Regions from separate parts of the Homo sapiens genome. Here regions 2 and 3 are each linked to region 1. The links are contacts of gene promoters, found by promoter capture Hi-C in blood cells and fetal thymus (Javierre and others, 2016). All regions are on one chromosome and are shown on one strand. Each heading gives the region's core, a stretch centred on a gene start or on the middle of the fragment in contact. The rest is flanking DNA. Distances are from core to core; before and after follow the strand shown.

Region 1 (4,463 bases), core at 854-3,353:
CCACGCCCTGAAGCTCCACTGTGGGCAGGTCATCTTCCGCTGCATTAGAGTTATTGGGTGGAACTGCTCTTCTGCCTCCAAAGGCGGTCCTGGAAGTTTCTGACATTTTTGACTTTACAAGGTCCTTCAGAAAAAAAAAAAAAAGAAGACAACAGAAAAGGCATGTAAAGTGAGTAACATTTGAGACAAGGATTCCAAAATAGAGAAACAGATATATCTGTGTGTGATAGCACTTGAGCAACACATTTTGCCGTTTGCATAAATAAAAACTGAGAAGTGGCAGCAAGGATTAGTCTAATGATGGAATACAGTTCCCCAAGGATCTTGGGGAGATTTTTGTATGTGTCAAAACATATGGAAAGCAGAAGAAAAGGGGCTTATTCAAAGAAATTTAAAAATTAAAAGATTTTTGGAGACCCAGATTCCCCCACCCTCCATAATCCTACAGCAGCATCTTCGCAAGAAATGTTTCCTGTTATATGCATGTGCTGTATCTATGTTCATTTCATACAGATTTATGAGATTATAAGTCACTTTTAAGAATAAACGCACACAACCATGTCCAGACAAATGTTGTCTTCTAAAGCGTTTACATTTGCAATTTAATTCAACCAATATTTATTGAGGGCCTATGACATGCCAGGCTGTGATCTAGGTACATGGGATACATCAGAGAACAAAACAGAATGTTTGCTCTGATAGATTATAGTCTGATAGGGTTAGGGTGGAGCCCAAGAAGAGCCATAAGTAAATCCACTTAGGGGTGAGGAGGTAGGAACTGCTTTGGAAATTGAGCCACATGGAGGAGGATAAGGAGGTGGAGAGGTTGGGCATGCAATTTTCAATAGGGCTATCAATAGGCTTAAGAAGTCAGGGTTGCCAACATTTCCCATTCCCCAAGCCTGCTTCCCCTTCCCTTGGAGCTTGTGCAGGCACTGAGCCAGTTTAAACAACACACACCTGACGGTCAGTGCCCAGTAAGTACTTGTTGACCAAATGACCAAATGAAGGGGGACTTTGTTTCTGGGCCCAGTGAAGGTTCCCCCTTGATCCCCTGGATTACCCAGTCATGACTCCTGGAGACTTGGCTATTTTCAAAAACCAGGCACACCCCCAAGAGGTGAAGAGTCCCCATTATAGAGGCCACCAGAGTAGAGAGATGGTTCCAGAGACATGTGGAGCACTAACAACATGCTGGAGAAAAGACAACCACGCCTAAGGTGTCTGGTCTGAGAAGGAGACAGGAGTGTTTGGATGCATAAGGTGTGAATGGGTATCCATAAGTATAGATAAATATATTTACAGTCATTGGTGAGCTGACGGGGGAAGGGAGGGAGAAGAGCGAAAAAGGGTTAATGATAGGGAGAAGGCTGCGAGAGCCATCCTCTAGTGAGAAATACCGAAGGTAGGCTGCGGCATTGCCAGGGGTGCAGAACAGTGTGGCGCGCTGTCGGGAGACACAGTGCTAAGGGGGAGAAGGGGGGAGCCCCAGGTGCACGCCTGGCTGGGTGAGTGCGGCGGGCAGGAGCCCTCGCTTCTGGGCGGGTCTAAGGAGGAGAAGTGGCTCGAGTTCAGCTCCAAATTGGGACGGAGGCAGGCGATGCGCAGGAGTGGGGAGGCGCGCAGGAGTGGGGAGCCAAGCCGGCGGGGTTCCAGTCTAGCAGGCTGTTCTCACTTGGCCCCACTCCCTCCACCTTTTGTGTTCCAGCTCCATAATCTGCTCCCTGAGGAAAGGGGGCTCGTCCCTTGGGGAAGCACCTCCAACTCCCCCATCCCCATTTGGTGGCATTCTAAGCAAGCAACGGCTTCGGGAGAGCTGCCTCGAGAGCCTGAGAGAAGTCCCGCTTAGAAGCTGGGCTGGGCAGGTGCGGAGTTGGGGGCGGGAAGCCAGGATTGGGCAAGTGGAGCTGCCTGTGACCGGCGCCACAGGGCCCAGAGCAAGCCGCTTGCTGGTTCAACCAGGAAACCGAGGTGCAGAAGGTGGACGCAGCGGGCCCTGGCTCATAGGGTGCAGGGTCGGTGGCTTACCTGCAGGCGCTCCCCTCCAGAGGTGCCCTCGCGTGGGCTTGCTCTGTGCGCCTCGGGGACTTCCTCAAACGGACTCGGGAAAGACAAGACAGTTGGCTCTTAAATAACTTCCTAAGAGGAGCCCTCACCCTCCTCCCCTGTCCCACAGGGTTTTCTCCTCCCCCTTCTCCACAGCTGGAGCCAGTAGGGGAGCTCAGAGGATTTTCTATTTACTTCATCTGGCCTGTTATCCCGGCAGGTGCGCCCTTCTCTCCCACTTGCCCCTCTGACTCCCAATTTCCCATTCCCACTTCTCCTCCCCATCCCCATCCCTAGATCTGCCCTCCCCACCGCAACCAGTTGCTGGGAGTACCAGGCAAGGGGCCCTGCAGTGCCAGGAAGTCCCCACCCGTCCCCTTTGGTCAGAGGGTCTGGGAGGGTTTCCTTTACAAAGGAATGCTTTTGCCTGGCAGGTCAGCTGCTACTGTGGCTTGGCAGGAGGGGGGTCTGCCCTCCCACAGACAGGTCACACAGACAGTTGTGACCATGCATGCAGTGAGAGCAACGTGTCCCTCCTGTGCAAATAAGGCATGGTCTGCATTCCTGAATCATCCCAGAGCCACAGCCACCGCCTAACCACAAGACTTCCTGCAGGAATGGGATGCCTAGCCCCAAGGAAGATGAGTAAACATCTTTAATAATGCCATGCAGATTAGAAAATAACACTTGGTTTTCTCTGAAAATCATTTTAGTGCATGTTCAAAAATTAGAAAATTTTCCCCCTAAAATTTTAATTTTTTTCTTTTACTCTTTCTTTCTTTCTTTCTTTCATCTTTCTATCTTTCAGATGAAGTCTTGCTCTGTTGCAAAGGCTGGAGTGCAACCTCCACCTCCCGGGTTCAAGTGATTCTTCTGCCTCAGCCTCCCAAGTAGCTGGAACTACAGGTGCATGCCACCATGCCCGCCTAATTTTTGTATTTTTAGTAGAGATGGGGCTTTACCATGTTGGCCAGGCTGGTCTCGAACTTCTGACCTCAGGTGATCCACCCTCCTTGGCTTCCCAAAGTGTTGGGATTACAGGCGTGAGCCACCGCACCCAGTCAAACATGGCTATTTCTAACCTTCTTTACTGTCTTCAAATTTCTGACCCTGCCACTCAATCTCCCAATGTTATAAAGAAGAAAAAAAAAGATGCCATTGGTTAGAAATTCTCTCAATTTTCTGCTACCAATCTATGAACCTGCCTGCAACCTTATCTATCTTTTCCTCTTTCTTCTTGTTACTGAAGTTGGAAAGGTCCCTCCTCCCTCTGCATCTCCAAACCAGGCTTCTGCGTTGCCTTGTTCTCCGGGGCTTTGCTGTGACTCTTACGTACTCTTCCTCTTGCAGCTTCAAGCTCCTGCTTGCTAATAGTGGGTCTTCTCAGCATTCATGCAATTTCAGGTCTCTTCAGTATTTTTTTAAAAACCTCCCCCAACCTATGTCCCCACTCCTGCTGTTACTCCTCCTCTCCTCCCCTTCATCACTAAGTATCTGCCATCTGGCTTCCGCCTCATCATTCTACTGAAAGTGGAGGTCACGGTCTCCAAGGCCTGTGCTCAGGCCAAAAGACAGGATTCAGTTCTTATTTACCTGACCTTTTGGAAGCATTGAACTCTGTCTTTGAAGGTATTTTTCCTAGGCCTCCTTGACATTGAACACTCTGTGGTTTCCTCCAGTGCAGCGCAATATTCCTTGATTGTCTGAGGAACTCCCATAGTTTTCAAATTCCATCTATATCCTGACACCTCCCAAATCTGGGTCTTTAGCCAAGATCTTTTCCAGAATTGCAGATTCCCGTATCTAAGTGCCTACTGGCTATCCTCATTTGTCACATCCCAGTGACAACACACGCTCATCATGTCTAACATGAGATGTATCACTTTCCTGGAAAACCTGGTGCATCTCAGGAGTTCCCTACCTCAATGAATACCATCACTTTGCACGCAGGTGGTACACCAGACACATGGGCATCATTCTTGAGGCTTCCTTGTTTCTCTCCCTCAATCATCAAATCCGATCCTTGAGCAAATATTTTCTATCCTACCTCTTAAACAGCCCTTGAATCTACCCGTGTATGTACCCCTTTCCAGTCCATTCTCTACAGTGCAGTCAGAATGAGCATTTCAGGGCTAAAATCCGAAATCAAATTATTTGCACAAAGCCCTTATATGGCTACTTCTCTTTGCTTTTTGGATAAATTGCAAGCTGAAACTGACAAGGCCTATACAAGCTGGACCCTGCCTCTAGCACTGCTCTTTCCCTCAGCATCCATACAATTTGAGGTCTCCAGTATTTTTAAAAAACCTTCCCCCAACACCAATCTACCCTCCCTGCCTTCCACTGTTGTTTCTCCTCTCCTCCTCTTCATCACTAAGCTTCTGCCATTTGGCTTCCATCTTTCTTCCCTATCATCT
Region 2 (4,463 bases), core at 1,015-3,514, 160 kb after region 1:
CCTCCTGGGTTCATGCCCTTCTCCTGCCTCAGCCTCCTGAGTAGCTGGGACTACAGGCACCCGCCACCACACCCAGCTAATATTTTTATATATTTAGTAGAGACGGGGTTTCACCATGTTAGCCAGGATGATCTCGATCTCCTGACCTCGTGATCCACCCACCTTGGCCTCCCAAAGTGCTGGGATTACAGGCGTGAGCCACCGCGCCCGGCTTTTGACCCCAACTTCTACTTGTATTTATTATAAAGAAATAATCAGAGACAATCATAAATATGTATGCATAAATAACACAACAGCGTTATTTATAATTGCAAAATTACAAAACCACTTAAATGACAATAGCAAAAATGTTTAAATAACTTCATCATCTGTATAATATTATACAAACATATTTTTGAAGATACAGCATGGCACTTGATGTGAGAAAATAACTAAACTGCAATAAATGGAAAAACACAGAATATAAAACTGTATATATAACCTCAATTTTATCCAAAATAAAAATTAAAAATGTTTACATATACATAAAATAATTGTAAGTGAATGAAACATGCTAACTTGAAGTCATCTCTTCATGGTTTTTCTTAAATTTTTCTATATTTTCCAAATTCTCATCTATGAGCTTCTGACTATTACAAAATAGAAACAACAAGTATACTATTTTAAAGAAAAATAATTCCTATCATTATTACAAATAAGCAGAGGTCAAAGTGGCTCAAGTCCAAAGGGCTGCTTAGAGCAAACACCTGGTCCTTTGCTACTTTACTCTCCAGCGCAAGGAGCGAGAGAGGCAGTGGCAGAGCATACAGATCTAGCTAATTCACTGTGTGACCTTGGACAAGTCACATTACCTCTGTGGGCCTCAGAGGGCTTTTCTGCAAAATGAACAGCCTGGATCAGTGAGCCGTGCCCTAGCAGAGCACAGCCTCCTGCCGTGGCTTCTGGGTAGAATTGCCTTTCATTGTGCAATTAAATCTGGCCTTCCCTCATGACGGGAGAGAAAAATATTTATGAATTACTCTCTAGTTTAGAAATGGATCTCTGTCTGGGAACAAAGGAACACAAGCCCCACTGGCAAATTAGAGTCCATTATCAGCTACTATAGCAGCAAGCTCAGCCTGGTGGTAATTGTATCTGCAATAATAAGGCTGTGAGGGCGACTCTAGGCCATTTGCTACCTGCATCAATCATCATTACAGTCTAGCACAGAGGGGATGCGGAAATGAGCCCATGTTATCAATGGCCAATTAGAACAAAGATCCATCCAGAAGCTCTTGGGAACCTGGCCAGGGCCAGCAGAGGGGGTGGATGAGGCGCACAGAACAACAGGTGGCCTGGGTCAGTCAGCTCGCTGATGTCACCGAGGAAGATCACCCTGAGACGCTGGCCTGCAACTCTGTTTAGAATCCCTAGTGACCTCAAATGATGTCAATTCTGCTTGGCTATGTGAACCCAAAATATCTGAAACAGGTCTCAGTCAACTTAGAAAGTTTATTTTGACAAGATTAAGGACACGCCCGTGGCATAGCCTCAGGACGTCCTGAGGACACGTAGGCAAAGTGGTCGGCACAAAGCTTGATTTGATACATTTTAGGGAGACATGAGACATCAATCAATATATGTAAGATGTACATTAGTTTGGTCTGGAAAGTCAGGACAACTCAAAGTGGGGAGGGGGCTTCAGGTCACAGGTAGAAAAGAAACAAACAGTGGCATTCTTTAATTGTGTGCATTTGTCTCATGTGAGCAAGGGAATGACTTTGAGTTCTGTCTTTTGTCCTTTAGTCCACAAGGAATTTCCTTGTGGGCAAATTGTGAGAGAGGTGTGTAGCTTTTTTTATTTTTGTAGCAACCTTACGTAGGAATAGAATGGGAGGCAGGTTTGCCAGTTCCCAGCTTGACTTTTCCCTTTGGCTTAGTGATTTGGGGTCCCCAATTATTTTCCTTTCACAGCGATGATATGCCAATTTCATGTAAATAACTGTGTATATTCCCTATTGATGGCACCTTTGGATCTACCCTGTGTATCACTGTTCTAGGACTGCCATAACAAATTATGCAAATGTGATGCCTTTAAACAACAGAAATTTATTCTCTTACAGGCCTGGAGACTAGAGGTCAGAAATCAAGGTGCAGTGGGCCCATACATACTTCCACTGAAGGCTCTAAGAATCCTTCCTTGCCTCCTCCAGCTGCTGGTGGCCACAGGCGTTCCTCAGGCTGTGGAAACATAACTGCAGTCTCTGCCTCCATCTTCATAGGGCCTTCTCCTCTGTCTCTGTGTGTTCCCTCCTCTTCCTGTAGGGATACCAGCCATTGGATTCGGGTCCACCCTGACCCAGTATGACTGCCTCTTCATTTGATGACATATGCAAAGTCTCTATTTCCACTAAGGTCACATTCTGAGGTTTCAGAGTAGACATGAAATTTGGGGGACACTACTCAAGTCACCACACCCTGATGTAGGACACTGTTAGATTTTCATCGGTTATCTTTTGCCTAAGTCTTATCCATGATAGTAGATGGGGTAATAATAGCTAATATTAAAATAGCACATACCACATGCCAGGCAAATTCTAATCTCTTCGCATATATTAATTCATTTTATTCTCACTATGAGGAAGTACTATTTTTGTCTTCATTCTTCAAAGGGAGAACAGAGACATAGAGAGATTAAGTAAAGTGTCCGAGATCACAGAGTAAGTGGCAGACCAAGCACTTCAGTTGAGCAATCCGGTTCTGAGCCTAGGTTCTTAACTATGCATCCTACCTCCTTAACGATGGACACAGCTAAACTAGACATCCTGACACAGGAGAAGAAATGCAGATGGCAAAACCCTTTTGGAAAGTAATTTGACAATCCATGTCAATAGTCTTGAAAACATCCATTCATGTTTTATCCAGTAATTATACTCTGGGGAGTTTTCCTTCGAAAAAAAAAAATCTGAATTGTATAAAGCTTCCATCCACAAAAACACTATAGCAGTATTGTTTATAAGAAAAAAGCTTACAAAACTAAGGGAAAAGATACTCTCAAACAAAAGATTACTTAAGTGAATAAGGTTATACCTATAGAATGAAGAATGTATCTCCATTAAAATAATATAGATAGTTTAGAGTAACAAAAGGAAATGCTTATGTTATAACATTAGGTGAAAACTGGAAAATAAGGTGGTCTATGTAAAATATTCTTGACTAGATTTTTAAACAACAGAAAAGAGAGAAATTACATTAACATGCTCACAGCAACTCTTTTAGAATAATTTTTTTCTTTCTCCTTTTTTAAAACCTTTTTGGATTTTTCAATTTCCATAATAAACATATTACTTTTGTAATTAGAAAAGAAATTATGAATATGGAAAATGTAAAGCAGAAGCAGTATTCTTACAGAAGGACTGAGGGGATAAGGGGAGGGGTAGTCAATTCTAGCCCTGGCCTTTACGTCAGAGATCTAAAATCCAAGACAGGCCATGGGAGATGCTCTCTTCTGGAAGCTCTAGCATTTGTTATTAAATTCTGAGACCATTGATTTGTCTTGTTTTTCAATCTGCTAAATTCTGGTTTTGACATTGATATATGCTATGCAAATATCTGTTGAATAAATAGGCAGCTGAGCTAAATAAGTGCACAGCATAAACAAATTAATGGAGAAGTGGAGGCATAGAGAGATTAAATAAATGGTTTCAATAGAAAATGTCTTTCTAATGGAAAAGTTTGAAGCCCCTTCCTTCTTGGTTTCTGAGACAATCCCACTAGGAATCTTGAGACTTGGTATCATTGACTTCACTTTGCAAGGCTGTAGATTAAGCTTTACCTCTTCAGCTATAAATGACGGAATCCCAAAAGAAGAAAAATAAATCTAAGCTGTGGGTCAAACAAATAGAAATTAAACTGACCTAAATCAATACCCAAAAAAGTAACTTTTCCTCTGAGCAAAGGCTGAAATGAGAACCTAGTTGCTTTAAAGGACAAACTGCCCTCCAGTTCAGGGAATCAGAAAAGTTTTTGTCTACATTCAAACCTTTGTAATACAACCCCCGACTTCCCATTTCCTTACATAGAAAGACTTCTATCTGTTTATAACCACATGGCGTCTGTTAGCAATCAGGATGGTTTTGTGGCTCTGAGTTAGGACACAGGGGTCACAATTTGGACGAGTCAGATTGCCTTAGCACGGCCACTCTGAAACTTATTACCATGTGCAAAACAAATATTTCCCCCTGAGGACTAAGCTCTGATTTCTTTTATCTTGCCCAAATTCCTATCTAAGGAGTCTGGGGTGTCATGCTCTACAAACCATAAATTCTCATCAGATAGGTTTTATTTAACCCTATATATCATGACTTATTTTCCAACCTGACTCTGGTATAACATTATGAGACAAGGAAGGAAACCAAAATATTTTCCCCAAAACATATTTCTTTGCCATATCTTGAAATGGCCCCGCAAGCCATCCTCTGTGG
Region 3 (4,463 bases), core at 1,391-3,890, 130 kb after region 1:
TTAATCTGGAACAGTTCCTGAATCTTTATTTTTATAAAGTATGTTTTTTTTTTTTTTTTTTTTTTTTTTTTTTTTTTTTTACTGTGGTCAGGGTAAAAAATTTTCTGACAGTCACTGGGCTAGTGAGCAGTTAGAGTCTAAAATATCACCTTGGTCTGCCTTCGAAGGGGAAATCACAGAAGAACATTCTCTTTCTTGAAATGGTAGAGGGTGGCTTCTGGATCTGATCGGGACATGGTGTTAGGGAAAGGAGAGCTATGAGAATGTCTTTGTTGCTGCATTTGGATTCTGAGAGGACATTAGAGTCCATTGTGGGAGTAATGAGGTTAAGGACACCTTTGTGTTGAAACCCTGGAAGAAGGTGCTGGCCGGCCTGAGCAGGTGGAATTCAGGGAAGAAGAGAACAGCCATTCTGGGTCTTTGCAAGGTGAGTTGGAACACTGGCTGATGTTGGAGCTTTGGTGAGCACCAGATCCTAAGATGTGAGGTAAGAAAACGGGAGATGCCCCTGGCCACACCTGGCCCTGTGGGAGGAAAGGCCCAACTAGGGAATCTACTCAGGCTCTGGATTAACACTGGCATCTGCCCACCTGGGTTGGATGTGTTGTCAATAGCCATGTGGTAGCAAGAGGCAAAAGATGATGGAATTTCAGGTTTTTCTAGTGAGAAATGGATTCACCCCACCCTAGCCCCATCTTGGACTGCTCAGGGCTTCCTGAGTTATCAGCAGAAGGATGGGTCCTCAAAGGGAAAATACGTCAATATTTGCTAATGTGGAAGGCAGGGCTCTCAACTAGCCAGATCTCATTTGAGTTGCAAAATATGAACATGGGTTTATATTTGCACAATGAGTTTTTGGAACAAGTCCTGCCAGTCACAGATTGTTTTTAAAATATAGGAGATGAAAGAAATCTCCTAAGCAGAAAGAAGAGAATAAAAAGAGAGCCTGAGGAATGCCATTATTTTAAAGTCAGGCAGAGAAGTACTTGTCAAAGGAGACAGAAAAGGCATTTCCACAGAGCAAGAAGGAAAAGCAAGAGTGTGCAGGTCACATAAGCTGAAGGACTTAAGATGGCAGAAAAGCTAACATATGGTTGAACTTTACCTGGAGCGTTTGCACCCTATCAAGAAGAAATAATTATTACACTCTGGCTATTGTACCCAGAATGTTCTGTGACCAGTGCTATTGTAGAGATGTGGATGTCTATGGCAAGTTCCAGCAGTTAAAGAGTCTATCAGGACTCATGCCATCAGCCACAGAAACACATTTCTGCTATCCTTGGATAACCAGGAGAGAACAGGCTTGGAAATGTGCAGCTGAGAGAGCTCTCATGGGCTGGACAAGCCACCACAGCCAAGGTCTTCTAGCAGGAACCCTATTGCTGTCCCCTCACTGAATATGCCTCCAGCCAGCCTGTGTGTTCCCTCATTCATTGAAAGTAAATGTGCCCAGAGGGGCACCTGCATGCCCAAGCTTGAATCACATGCCTACCTTGGGGTGCACTTAGATGGGGAAACACAGGATGTGGGATTCTCAGTTGCAGGGATATTTTACTTAAAACTTGAAACTATTAATGTAATTCCTGCATCCCTCAGTACAGGCAGAGAGGAGAGCAAGTGTGTCCTGGACCTACCTAGCTATAACTATGGCTTTGTGTGTGTTCATGTGCCACATGTGGCCAGGTGGTGGGCTCCAGCACACCACACAGATGAGGGGAGCCCTCCTGAACACTGGGCTATGTCTTCTGACTGACCCAGAAGCTGGTGGGAACAAGCTGTTTTGGCTCCCTTCTCCCCCTCCCTGCTATCCTGCCTCCCCACTTTTTACCACCCACCCCTGTCCCCTAACCACCACCAGCATTCAGTGATAGTCCTGGCAAGATTGCAGTTCCTGTGCAATCTCTCTGTGGACACCTCTCAGGCTGTAGGCACTGTGCCTCTTGGAAACTGGTAAATTTGCAGGGGAAGGGAAGTTCCTAACCTCACTTTGCCTGGAAATGCCATGCCTTCTCTACCCTGTTATTTGTTTTCCTTCTGTTCTAGTCACTAGGAACAGATCAGAAAGTTGGCTGGTGACACAGATAGCCTCGGAGGGAGAGGGAGGGGTGGCTGGAATGCTCCCTTGGCTTTGGAAAGCCTGTCCCTTTCTCCCAATTGGGTGGTGACTGGAACAAATGACACTCCCTCCCAAACACTGCATTTCCCCCAAAGGTGCTCCTCCCTTCTCCCAATCAGCGAGGATAGGATGTAGGGAGGGAATGGGGGTGGTGGGGGAATTCTCTGAACTGATACCTCTCAGCAGGCTCTGAAAGGTGGAAGCTGGGCCTGACCCCTGGGGGTCCAGGGTGACGCAGGGGAGCAGTTTGCTCTGCGGCAAGCAATTGTTAGAACTGAGACTTTGGTGGAAGTCACATGGGGATGATAAGGAGATGGGCTTTCAGTTGGTTTTGTTATTATATTTAAGCATTCTACAGACTGTGTGGCTCCTTGTTGTCTGCAGCCCAGAGTGGACTGCTCCCACCTCCCCACCTTTGGGACAGCATGGATAACAACTGACAGGCAGTTGCCGGACCTTAGGATGAGAACAATTAATGTGGTCACGGATAAGTTTCCAGGGTACCAAGAAAAAAATCAACATTGAAATCCTACCTGATTTTCCTAATATCCTGGAAATTTATCCATCACCACAAACATGGTTCTCATCCTAAGGTCAGACAACTATCTAGTGATGTCCCAAAGGTGGGGAGGTGAGAGCAGGAAGTGGGGGAATTGGATGATGGACAACCGGCGGGCAGGGGGAAGGAACGAATTTCCACTGCGATGAGTTTATAAGTATTAGAGAGAAGCATGTGTGTGTACAAATATTTTTTATGTGTACTTGTAATGTCCCACACATATACCCACTAGGAACCAAGGTTGCTTATACAGGCAGGGGAAGTAGACAAGCTCTTACTGGAGCAGTTTGAAGGGTGTCTCAGATATCTCCCCGTTGCCAGTTTTCACCGGTTGTGGATATCTAACTTTAGAAATTCATTCCTTTGTGAACCTGACCTTCAAGCCATTCTTTCCTTAGGTTTCCTCCTGAAAAACCTCAGCTAAAATATTTTCCTACTTCTCTGAATTTCCACATGCTTTATCTAAGGGCAGAAATCTCACAAAGTTAACCTTGTTGTATCCACAGCACCAAATGCAGTGCCTGACATACACTAGGTGGTCAACAAACAGATACTGAGTGAATTAAAATAGAATCATATCTGGGAATCCTAGAAAGCTAAGTCACTGGTATGTCAAGGGCATTCGGGCTAGTTTCCTCCTCAGAGGAAAGACAGAGGCAGCCTGAGAATCCCAGGTTGCTTTGGGCTATTAGAATGTTAACAAAGCATTGAAAAGAACTCACTAAAGTGACAGCATCAAAATGATGACATCAGAACATCTTGTACCCATTCCTGCTTCATCAAGTAACCTCAGGCTAGTCACGTAATTTCTCTGATGTCAATTTTTTTTATCTACAAGTTATCACGAGTGGATTAAACATTTTCTAAGATCCTTTTTCTCTTGGTTCTCTTCCCTGCTAGAGAGAAGGGAAAATACTTTGGTTATTATTTACTTGTCATCAAGTTTTGTCTCTTTCTACATACATCACATTGATGCTATTACTCTACTCCTTAAAATGTCTGTATCTGTAATTATCCGCCAATTACCTACCAGATCACGTCCAAACTCCATCTACAAACATTCATTCAAGACCTCCCCACCCCATCGACACTTTATCTTTTTCAGCCTTATTTCTCACCATTCCCCTATCCTAAGCTTCCCTTGCAGTCAAAATTGATCTATTTCTGGTCCACTAAATAGTTTATAAATTTTAAAAATTTTGTCCCTTTACTCAAATGCTTCTTTCTACATACGTGATAGTTCATTTCAGGTGTCACCTTGACTGGATTAAGGGACACCCAGATAGCAGGTTAAACATTATTTCCAGGCATTTCTGGAAGAGATTAGCATTTGAAGCAGTGGACTGAGCAAAAACGATCAGCCCTCACCAACGTGGGTGGACATCATCCAATCTGCTGAGGGCCCACATAGAACAACAAGGTGGAGGAAGGACAAATTTGCTCTCTGTCTTCTGCAGATACAACGCTCATCTTTTCCTGCCTTTGGACATCAGAACTCCAGGTTCTCCAGCATTTGGGCTACAAGACTTTTACCAGCACCTCCACCTGCCCTCAGACTGAGAGTCACAGCCTTGGCTCCCTGGTTCTCCAGCTTGCAGACAGCCTATCATGGGACTTCTCAGCCTCCATAACCATGGGAGCCAGTTCCCATGATAAATCCCCTCATATATCTTTATCTATCTATCTATTATCTATCTATCTATCTATCTATCTATCTATCTATCTATCTATCTATCCATCCATCCATCCTATTGATTCTGTTTCTCTGAAGAACTCTGACTAATACAA

Evidence for each region. Contacts are between HindIII fragments. The CHiCAGO score rates a contact against its expected background, and 5 or more counts as called.
Region 2: a fragment that was not itself captured here is called in contact with the fragment with the promoter of F13A1 in region 1 in 4 of 17 cell types (megakaryocytes, M2 macrophages, M1 macrophages and 1 more); the score reaches 11.5 in megakaryocytes.
Region 3: a fragment that was not itself captured here is called in contact with the fragment with the promoter of F13A1 in region 1 in 1 of 17 cell types (megakaryocytes); the score reaches 6.2 in megakaryocytes.

What each region holds. Positions count from the first base shown.
Region 1 is chr6:6,318,559-6,323,021 of GRCh38, forward strand. F13A1 (coagulation factor XIII A chain) reads right to left here and starts at 2,104. Exons shown (of 15, transcript NM_000129.4): 1 at 2,029-2,104; 2 at 1-124. The coding sequence starts at 106. All of the region lies in intron 1 of LOC124901253 (a long non-coding RNA gene), which reads left to right. The HindIII fragment of the contact is 4,604 bases long and covers 1-4,422 here.
Region 2 is chr6:6,473,461-6,477,923 of GRCh38, forward strand. All of the region lies in intron 3 of LY86-AS1 (LY86 antisense RNA 1), which reads right to left. Among named protein-coding and RNA genes, the nearest start is that of LY86, 110 kb to the right of the region's middle. The HindIII fragment of the contact is 1,385 bases long and covers 1,573-2,957 here.
Region 3 is chr6:6,450,131-6,454,593 of GRCh38, forward strand. The region is part of intron 3 of LY86-AS1 (LY86 antisense RNA 1); the gene reads right to left. Among named protein-coding and RNA genes, the nearest start is that of F13A1, 130 kb to the left of the region's middle. The HindIII fragment of the contact is 2,336 bases long and covers 1,473-3,808 here.